Linked DNA regions of Homo sapiens: region 1 is linked to region 2. The links are contacts of gene promoters, found by promoter capture Hi-C in human tissues and cell types (Jung and others, 2019). All regions are on one chromosome and are shown on one strand. The core of a region is centred on a gene start or on the middle of the fragment in contact, and the rest is flanking DNA. Distances in the headings are between cores, read along the strand shown. Region 1 overlaps HNRNPR (heterogeneous nuclear ribonucleoprotein R). Region 2 holds the start of TCEA3 (transcription elongation factor A3).

The links. Contacts are between HindIII fragments. The study calls those that stand out against the background at their distance.
Region 1: a contact is called between a fragment that was not itself captured here and the fragment with the promoter of TCEA3 in region 2, in 3 of the 25 tissues and cell types used here (H1 embryonic stem cells, IMR-90 fibroblasts and heart left ventricle).

Annotation. Positions count from the first base shown.
Region 1 is chr1:23,333,021-23,338,006 of GRCh38, reverse strand. HNRNPR (heterogeneous nuclear ribonucleoprotein R) reads left to right here. Exons shown (of 11, transcript NM_005826.5): 4 at 146-253; 5 at 4,376-4,489. Among named protein-coding and RNA genes, the nearest start is that of HNRNPR, 8.8 kb to the left of the region's middle. The HindIII fragment of the contact is 4,351 bases long and covers 270-4,620 here.
Region 2 is chr1:23,422,665-23,427,947 of GRCh38, reverse strand. It overlaps TCEA3 (transcription elongation factor A3), which reads left to right and starts at 3,200. Exons shown (of 11, transcript NM_003196.3): 1 at 3,200-3,383. The coding sequence starts at 3,315. It overlaps LOC124903875 (a long non-coding RNA gene), which reads right to left and starts at 3,082. Exons shown (of 3, transcript XR_007065535.1): 1 at 2,787-3,082; 2 at 1,688-1,770; 3 at 1-236. The HindIII fragment of the contact is 4,937 bases long and covers 1,207-5,283 here.

The sequences.
Region 1 (4,986 bases), core at 1,196-3,695, 89 kb after region 2:
TAGTAACCACTCGGCAAATACTTGTTGAATGAATCAGTAAATCTTTTGTTAAAATCCTGGTTTTCTGAAATTTAAATTTAATTATGTATCTGACCCTTCAGATATTTTTGGTGATTCTTTTTATTGAATTACTTGTCTGTTCTAGAACAAAAGTGCATTTTTATGTGGAGTTATGAAGACCTACAGGCAGAGAGAGAAACAGGGGAGCAAGGTGCAAGAGTCCACAAAGGGACCTGATGAAGCGAAGATCAAGGTAAAACTTGACTTGGGTAGTTGTAATGAAATTGCATTTAATGATGAGGTCAAATGCCTCTTTCCATGTTTCCTAGAAAGTTTCACTTTTTTTTTTTTTGAGACGGAGTCTTGCTCTGTCGCCCAGGCTGGAGTAGCGGCGCAGTCTTGGATCACTGCAAGCTCCACCTCCCAAGTTCATGCCATTCTCCTGCCTCAGCCTCCCAAGTAGCTGGGATTACAGCCATGCACCACCACACCCAGCTAATTATTTGTATTTTTAGGAAAGATAGGGTTTCACTGTGTTGGCCAGATTGGTCTCGATCTCCTGACCTTGTGATCCGCCCACCTCGGCCTTCAAAGTGCTGGGATTACAGACGTGAGCCACCACGCCCAGCTGAAAGTTTCACTTTTCAAAACTAGTGTTTAGAAATGAAATAATTTAGAGGAATTACATAAGAAGGATAATTTTGGGGATCGACACTCAATTGCATGTTTAATGAAAAGCCCTAATTCATACTCTTCCTCATTCCCTCTTTTGTGGCCATGAATGACGTATATTTATTGATGCTTCGCTGGTAGTTTCTTGGATTGATCCAGTAATGTCTCTTGGTTCAGTTATTTTCCAGCCACTTTGTTTCTTTTCTCTTGATAAAAAGGTTATAACTTGATAAAAAGTTGTTATAACTGCTTTCCTCCTTTTGAATATTCAGTTACCTCAGTTTCTTTATTTATAAAATGGGGATAGTAATAGTGACTACCTTACAGAGTTATTGTAAGGAGTAAATGAATTAACATATATAAAGCACTTAGAATAATGCCTGGAATGTAGCAAGAACTATATAACCATGAACCATTATTATTATTACCATTTTATTACTTAGATAAACAGCTTTGAAAAGGTAAATATACAGCTTTTAATGAAAGACCAGTGAACCTAATTCCTTAGTTAAATGGATACTCGTGTCTTGCTGTAGTGACATACTTTTCTTTTTTTTTTTTTTTTTTGAGACAGAGTCTCACTCTGTGGCCCAGGCTGGAGTGCTGGAGTGCAGTAGCGCCATCTCAGCTCATCTCAGCTCACTTCAACCTCTGTCTCCTGGGTTCAAGCGATTCTCCTGCCTCAGCCTCCTGAGTAGCTGGGACTACAGGCGTGCGCCACCACATCCAGCTAATTTTTTTTTTTTTTTTTTTTTTTTTTTTTGAGACGGAGTCTCCCTCTGTCGCCCAGGCTGGAGTGCAGTGGCGCGATCTCAGCTCATTGCAAGGTCTGCCTCCTGGGTTCACGCCATTCTCCTGCCTCAGCCTCCTGAGCAGCTGGGACCACAGGTGCCTGCTACCATGCCCGGCTAATTTTTTTTTTCTTGTATTTTTAGTAGAGACAGGGTTTCACTATGTTAGCCAGGATGGTCTCAATCTCCTGACCTCATGATCCGCCCGCCTCGGCCTCCCAAAGTGCTGGGATTACAGGCGTGAGCCACCGTGCCTGGCTGCTAATTTTTTTTGTTTTTTGGTAGAGTCGGGGTTTCACTGTGTTAGCCAGGCTGGTCTCAAACTCCTGACCTTGGGGGATCTGCCTACCTCACCCTCCCCAAAGTGCTGGGATTACAGGTGTGAGCCACCATATCCGGCCTGTGATAGACTTTTTTTTTTTTTTTTGAGACGGAGTCTCGCTCTGTCGCCCAGGCTGGAGTGCAGTGGCGGGATCTCGGCTCACTGCAAGCTCCGCCTCCCGGGTTCACGCCATTCTCCTCCCTCAGCCTCCCGAGTAGCTGGGACTACAGGCGCCCGCCACTACGCCCGGCTAATTTTTTGTATTTTTAGTAGAGACGGGGTTTCACCATTTTAGCCGGGATGGTCTCGATCTCCTGACCTCGTGATCCGCCCGCCTCAGCCTCCCAAAGTGCTGGGATTACAGGCGTGAGCCACCGCGCCCGGCTGTGATAGACTTTTTAATTAGAAATAGTTATTGTATGTTGAAGTTATTTCTATTATTATTACATTGTAATATGTAATGAAATAATTATACAACTCACCATAATGTAGAATCAGTGGGATCCCTGAGCTTGTTTTCCTGCAACTAGATGGTGCCATCTGGGCATACTGGTAGATGGTGACAGATCTTCAAGCATTAGATTCTCATAAGGAGCATGCAACCTAGATCCCTTGTATGCACACTTCACAATAGGATTCACCCTCCTGTGAGAACCTAATGCGGCTGCTGATCTGACAGGAGGTGGAGCTCACAGCTCAGGCAGTAATGCCAATGATAGGGAGGATGAGGAGCGGCTGTAAATACAGATGAAGCTTTGTTCTCACTTGCCCGCTATTTACCTCCTGCTATGCAGCCCGGTTCCTAACAGGCCATGGACCAGTACGGGTCTGTGGCCCAGGGGTGTGGGGACCCCTGTTTTATATTACATTTATGGCTCTGTTTCAGTCAAAGGTAGAAGAATGGAAGGCCGAAGGCATGCATCCCTGTGAAATCCTAGTGTTCACTGAACTTGATGATATCTAAAGTCTCTTATTGTTCTGACATTGTGTAATTTTAAAAACCTGGCTGGGCTCTGTGGCTCACGCCTGTAATCCCAGCACTTTGGGAGGCTGAGGCGGGTGGATCACGAGGTCAGGAGATCGAGACCATCCTGGCTAACAACGGTGAGGCCACCTGTCTACTAAAAATACAAAAAATTAGCCGGGTGTGGTGGCAGGCGCCTGTAGTCCCAGCTACTTGGGAGGCTGAGGCAGGAGAATGGCGTGAACCCGGGAGGCGGAGCTTGCAGTGAGCCAAGATCGCGCCACTGCACTCCAGCCTGAGCGACAGAGCGAGACTCCGTCTCAAAAAAAAAAAACCAAAAAAACTGAAGTGTAAATTTCTCTTTTCTAGGTAGATTGTGTTTCTTTGTTTACCATTGTATCTTTTCTTCTCTAAGCTCTTTATATAGATGTTGCCTCAATTATAACATAAATTCCTGAGAGCAAGGAGATTATCTTCTTTTCTATGATTGCTCTTAATACCTAATAGAATGTAAGGAAGGTTGGTAATCAGGAAACACAAGATTTTACTTATTTTTCGGAACCTGACTATACTTATTTGGTAATTGCCAAATATTTTTAGTCTGTACTGTATGATTCTTGTCTGATTACCTGATTCTTGTGGAGCTTATGATATGGCAGGAGTACAAACCAGAAGGATCAAACAAAATCAAGCTTAAATGATGGAACTTTAAGTACACTAGAGGCTGGGTATGGTGGCTCATTCCTGTAATCCCAGCACTTTGGGAGGCCAAGTCGGGTGGATCACGAGATCAGGAGATTGAGACCATCCTGGCTAACACGGTGAAACCCTGTCTTTACTAAAAATACAAAAAATTAGCCGGGCGTTGTGGCGGGTGCCTGTAGTCCCAGCTGCTCGGGAGGCTGAGGCAGGAAAAGGGCGTGAACCTGGGAGGCGGAGCTTGCAGTGAGCCGAGATCGCGCTACTGCACTCCAGCCTGGGTGACACAGCGAGACTCCGTCTCAAAAAAAAAAAAAAAAAAAAGTACACTAGAAAGACAGTGGGGGCTGGGCACAGTGGCTCACACCTGTACTCCTAGCACTTTGGGAGGCCAAGACAGGCGGATCTCATGAGGCCAGGAGTTCCTGACCAGCCTGGCCAACATGGTGAAACCCCATCTCTACTAAAAATACAAAAATTAGCTGGGCGTGGTGGCACATGCCTGTAATCCCAGCTACTTGGGAGGCTGAGACAAGAGAATCTCTTAGACCCGGGAGGCAGAGGTTGCAGTGAGCCGAGACGATGCCACTGCACTCCAGCCTGGGCAACAGAGCAAGACTCCATCTCAAAAAAAAAGAAGAAAAGACAGTAGGGAGAAATGGATGTGAGTAATAGTAAATGAGAGAAGCTGCATGAAGGAGGTAAGACTTGTGCTAATTTTTTTAAGGATAGAGAACATTTTATTTGAAAAGACTCACCAGTAGAAACATGTATGGGGAACCAGTGCGAATTTTGACTTTTTTTTTTACCTAACCATAAAAATATATCTCCTAGGAAGTTGGAGTCCTTTTTGGAAAAGATTAATACACTGATGCTTGTGTGTGAGATTTAGTACTCAAGTATAAAGAGATGTATAATTATCTCTAGGCCTTGCTTGAGAGAACTGGTTATACTCTGGATGTAACCACAGGACAGAGGAAGTATGGTGGTCCTCCACCAGACAGTGTGTACTCTGGCGTGCAACCTGGAATTGGAACGGAGGTAAGTGTTCTTTAGCAGTTTACCAAGATCTTTCCAGTTTGGAAAGTGTTTTATCTACTATGCAGATACTGTACAGACGGGGGAAAATTCTTGATCCCTTTCAAAGTGTAGCTGTTGTTAGTTTTTAGATATCCATTTGTATTTTGCTGCCATCATGAGGATGGATAATCTTGTGACTGGTAGATACCCGAACACTTTATATAGGAATATAATATAGAGTTTTTGGAACAGGTTGCTAAAACCATGCTACTAGCAGCACACCATTTTAGATACTTGGAGTAAAGTTATTTGGAAGACGCAATTGCTTTATTCTGTCTTTTTTTTTCCCCTCCCCTGAGATGGAGTTTCGCTCTTGTTGTCCAGGCTGGAGTGCAGTGACACGGTCTCAGCAAACTGCAACCTCGGCCTCCTGGGTTCAAGTGATTCTCCTGCCTCAGCCTCCTGAGTAGCTGGGATTACAGGTGCGTGCCACCACACCTGGCTAATTTTGTATTTTA
Region 2 (5,283 bases), core at 1,951-4,450:
CAGAGCGAGACTCTGTCTCTAACTCTTGTTGGGGACCTGTGAGAAGGAGTATTGACTAGAACATGCCTTCAGGTTGTCCCATCGAGAGTGAAGAAATGATGTTTTCCACCAACTCTGGTTTCTTGCTGGTTGGGGGTGTCCTTTCTGAGGGCATCAATTTCCTACCACCCCAAAGCTCCAAATAGAGAAATGTGGGGAGCTGTCCAAGGTGTGTCCAGGAATTATCTTCCAGTGACCTGTAGGGTGGACAGGTAGGCAGAGGGGATATGATGGTATCAACAGGGTCCAACCCTGAGAGAATCATCACCCTCTTTAGGCCTCGGTCTTCCCATCTATACAATAAAGAGGTTGGACTCCATGTTTTCTTAGGGGCCTTCATACCCTGACATTCTAGGAGTCTTAACTTTTTTTTGATGTCGCGCATCTCAGGGTGGTGACTGGGTGGAAGTTTGAGAAAAATCTCTCTCTCTCTCTTTTTTTTTTTTTTTTGATGGCTCTGTCTCCCATACTGGAGTACAGTGGCACAATCAGAGCTCACTGTAACCTTGAACTCCTGGGCTCAGGCAAGCCTCCTGCCTCAGCCTTCCGAGTAGCTGGGACTATAGGCCCACGCCACCATGCCCAGCTTTTTAAAATATTTTGTAGAGACGAGGTCTCTCTCTGTTGCCCAGGCTAGTCTTGAACTCCTGGCTTCAAGCAATCCTCCTGCTTTGGCCTCCCAAAGTGCTAGGATTACAGGCATGAGCCACTGCTCCTGGCCTTTTTTTTAATAAGGCAATCCTAAGTAGCCTCAGGCTGCTGAGGTTGAGTCTCTTCAACCCAGAAGGGCTTGGCTGGGATTGGCCAAAAGGCCTCCCAGAGAATCCCAAACCATTAGAGTCTAACTTCCCAAATGTGACCGGCAGGCACTGCATGCTCAGGTCCCACCCACTGCCTCTCCCCACACTCCTCACCTCTGTGCTGCAGCCACGCCAATTTTTCAGTTCCTCCAACACTGTCAGGCAGGCCAGGCACCCTCCCATCCCTAAGCTTTGCACATTTGGAACTCCAAGAGGGGAGGACTGTTTTGTTCCTCTCTGGATGTCCAGAACAAGAACTACCTGGCACATATTAGGTGCTCCATAAATATATGTTGAATGCCTCTTCCTTTCTTCCGTGAACACTCTTCCTCCTCCCCTCAACGGCCACTGTGTACTTCAGCCCAAAGTTTAAACTTCGTTTCTTCAGAGAAGTTGACACCCTAAATAGTGCAGGTCCCCTCAAATGTGTCCTTAAGCTATCCTCCACTGCTTCCTGCCCTTCACCCCAGCTATGATAAATGCATTAATTGACTATGTCTGTTTTTGTTTAAGGTTTCTCTTGCCCATAGACTGAGTCTCAAGCTTTCTGGGACTGGGTCTGTCTTGTTCATTGCTTGGACACTCAATACGTATTTGTTGAATGGATGAAAAAAACCCACTCTGTCCTACCTTGATCCCCGTCACATAGCAATTAGAAGATAGGTGTCCACACCAAGCTGCCTCTGCGACCCAAGCTGAAATGCGGTTCTCTCAGGAAAATCAGGAGATTTCACTCGACACCCCAACCCCAGCTCCCACACACTGTGGACCACTTTTCATGCCTTCCCTCCAGGTTCCTGAGCCCCACCCCCATCACAGGAAGATCATTTTCTGTCCATTAAACTCACTTATTTAGCAAGAGAACTGGGTCTGCAGGAGATACTTGAAGATCATTGGAGATCATTCCACAGGAAGGCAGATCCCTGCATGGCTGGGGAAGATAGGCACAATTGTGTTTCCACCCCTCCACTAAGATGACTTCCAAACCCAACCCCACTGAGGGGATACTGGCCTGACCTGGCAGCCTTGCACCTGGATCAATATTTCTCAAAATTTGGTGCACTTAAGAATGAATCTCGGCGGGGTGCGGTGGCTCACGCCTGTAATCCCAGCACTTTGGGAGGCCGAGGCAGGCAGATCACGGGGTCAGGAGATCGAGACTATTCCGGATAACATGGTGAAACCCCATCTCTACTAAAAATACAAAAAAATTGGCCGGGCGTGGTGGCGGGCGCCTGTAGTCCCAGCTACTCAGGAGGCTGAGGCAGGAGAATGGTGTGAACCCGGGAGGCAGAGCTTGCAGTGAGCCGAGATCGTGGCACTGCACTCCAGCCTGGGCGACAGTGCGAGACTGCGTCTCAAAAAAAAAAAAAAAGAATCTCATCTGTAATTACAGCACTTTGGGAGGCCAAGGCAGGCGGATCGCTTGAGACCAGGAGTTCCAGACCAGCCTGGGCAACGTAGTAAGACCTAGTCTTTACAAAAAATTAAAAAATTAGCTGGGCATGATGGATGGCTCACGCCTGTAGTCCTAGCTACTCAGGAGGCTGAGGCAGAAAGGATCACTTGAGCTGGGGAAGTCGAGGCAGTGAGCCTGATTGCTCCACTCCACTCTGGCCTCAGCCACAGAGGGAGACCCTGTCTCAAAAAAATAAAAAGAATCTCCCCGATAAGCTCTCACTACTCGAGAGTGTAGTTCTGGGACCAGCAGCACCCCCAGCACATAGGAGCTTGTTAAAAATGCAAAGCCTTACTAACAAAACAGCCAGCAAAGGAAGTTTTAGGTAGACAGAGGCAAACAGGAGCCTGGATACACGTGGCATGCACAGGCCGTGTGCACGATGGAGTGAGTGCAGGTTAAAGCAGAGCTGGATTTAGTGATCTACACACACACACACACACACACACACACACACACACACACACACACACGGGATTCGAGCGCACCGAGTTGCCTCCACTTGGGCATAGGCGCGGAACTGTGTCCTCCCGCTTTGAGATGCAACGGTGCAGAGACGCGGGAGCCCAGAACGCTTCCCAGGGCCCCTGGGACACCCTCGGGCGCCCTCCGCGCCGCGACCGCCGCCTGTGGCCAGGTCACAGCCTCCCAGCTCGCCAGAGAGCCCTCCTTCCCAAATCTCTCTTCGGTCCCCCGGCGCCCCTGGAAGGGCCGGAGTTGGAGGGTCCCCTCTCTCAGCCTCGTCCCTCCCCTGAGGCCCGATCGGCCGGCGCGGGCAATCAGTGCCCGGGCAAGTCCTTGAAGTCTATATTTAGTGCCCGCCACCCCTCCCCCGCACAGTTGGGAGGCGGGCGGTGGGGGGGTGGGGGTGGGGAGAGCCCCGCCCCCGCCGGGCGTGTGTGTCGTGTGTGTTTGGGGCCCGCGCGGGTTGCGCGCCCTCCGCCTTCGCGCCTCCTGCCCCCGAGGCCCTACTGCTGCCCCTGTGCCCCTCGCCCCGCCGGGCGTCGCGGGCCAACATGGGCCAGGAAGAGGAGCTGCTGAGGATCGCCAAAAAGCTGGAGAAGATGGTGGCCAGGAAGAACACGGTGAGGCTGCAGAGTTTGGGCCACGGCCCCCGCCCCCGGGAGGCGCGGGCAAGCCCCGGATTCCGGGGTGGGGACGTACTGGCGGGGCGCCATGGGGGCGCGTACGGGACTCGGGGACCCGAGGGAGGAGCGGCTGGTGCAGGGCCCAAGGCCCCTTGGGGACCCTTGCTGAGCACCTCGAGGTGGGCGTGTGCGTGGCCCAGGACGCCAGGGGGATCGTGCGGGTCCCGGAGGCGCGACTTGTGCACGTCCCTTTGGACGTGTAGGGTTCACCCTGGGCAGCTAGTGCAGGGCCCAGGAAAGCGGGCGAAGAGAGCTGGACGTGGGAAAGGACTTTGGGAGTCCCAGGGCTTGGCGTGTGCAAAGCCCGGGGAGCGGCGGCGATGGCGGGGGCGGGGCGGGGGGCAAATCCGGGTGGCCCGAGAAGTGGCAGAGAAACTTGGGCTGACGGGGGTACTGAGCTGCATCCCTGCACCCCGGAGTGGGTCTGCGGGAGAGAAGTAAAAGGCCGTGGATCCTGCGACCCCACCGCTTGGTGCGTCAGGAGCGGTTCTTTTGGCAATTTTCCCTTTCCTTGGCCTTGGGGTGCGGCCCGGACGGGCGGGGGCCGAACAGGTGCGGGGGCCCGCGGGGCGGGGGAAGGGGGCCGGGCTGGAGGCCTGTGCAGCGAGGGCGAGGGCGGAGGGAGGAGCGGGCTCGGCGGGAGGTTGGGAGCAGGGCTGACAGCCCTACCGGAGGGTCCTGGCCAGAGCGCAGACCCAGCTGGAAGTTAATGTTTGATCTTCCCCGTGATCTTTGCCTGGGGCTGGCGGCCGACTGGTCGCCTGGCCAGAGCAAATTTGGCCTTGGGTCCTGGAGGGCCTGCGCTCACCCTGGGAGGGAAAAAAAGGGAGCCTGGTGAGCATGCCCTTCCCACCTCCCGTTCCTGTTCCAGGGTCCTCTTCCTCCCACCATCCGTAGCCATGTGCTGCAGCCACCTGCATTTCCAGGACACTTAGGAGCCTGGGAAAGGAAGAGACACTAAGGGAAGTTTTAGAGCCAGGAAGAGTAGCCAAGGCCCAGGGAAGGGTCACTGGAACCATGAAGTGGCAGGGAGCCCTAGAGTGGACACTGGGCAGTCATGAGTTGGTGTCCATATAAAGGCCAGAGCCTCAGTTTCTTCATCTGTAAGAAAGAGATGAGATTATCTGCCTCTGGAGAAGGGATGTCACTGGATTCTTGTCTCTGCTGGCAGCGGTGAGGATTGGAGAGATGAGACAGAGATGTAAAGCCCTTAGTAGGACTCAGACCTGTGCTTGCTAAGAACTGGCGAACAAGACCTGCTTCTACGCAGCCAGGTCCAACACAGAAAGATACAGCACAAACCTGCAGAGTGCTGGGAGCTTCTCACCTGACACTCCCAACCTCCATGCACTCCCCGTTCCAGACTCCTCCACAATCCTCAGTACAACTGAGCCACAAGTCTTGGGGGAGCATTTTCTCAGCTGGGGTTGGCAGAGCGCAGCCAGGGATTCTGAGCCAAATTCCAGTTCAAATAGACGGGTTATCCCAGCCCAGCTCCTTACTGACCCCCAAGCTTGGGCCAGGAAAGAAATTCTGGGCCCCTGGGTAAGAGGGGTAGGGTGGGGACGCCTAGAGACCGGAGGAGAGGCAGGCTGCTTGGGATAGAGCTCTGGCTGAAGAGGACGGGACCTGCCCTGGCCTCCCCCTCACTCCTTTTATGGCCCTAGGCAAAAGCCACTCAACCTTCCCTTTCTGGACCTCGAGTTTCCTCTTCTGTGAAATGGGAAGAGGAAATGGTGTCTTTTGGAGATGGATTCCTGTGGAAGTGCCCAGAGCTGTCCCCTGAAAAGATGCAAGTCTGGCCGCAGGGTCCCTGCAGCATGGAGCCAGTTTACAG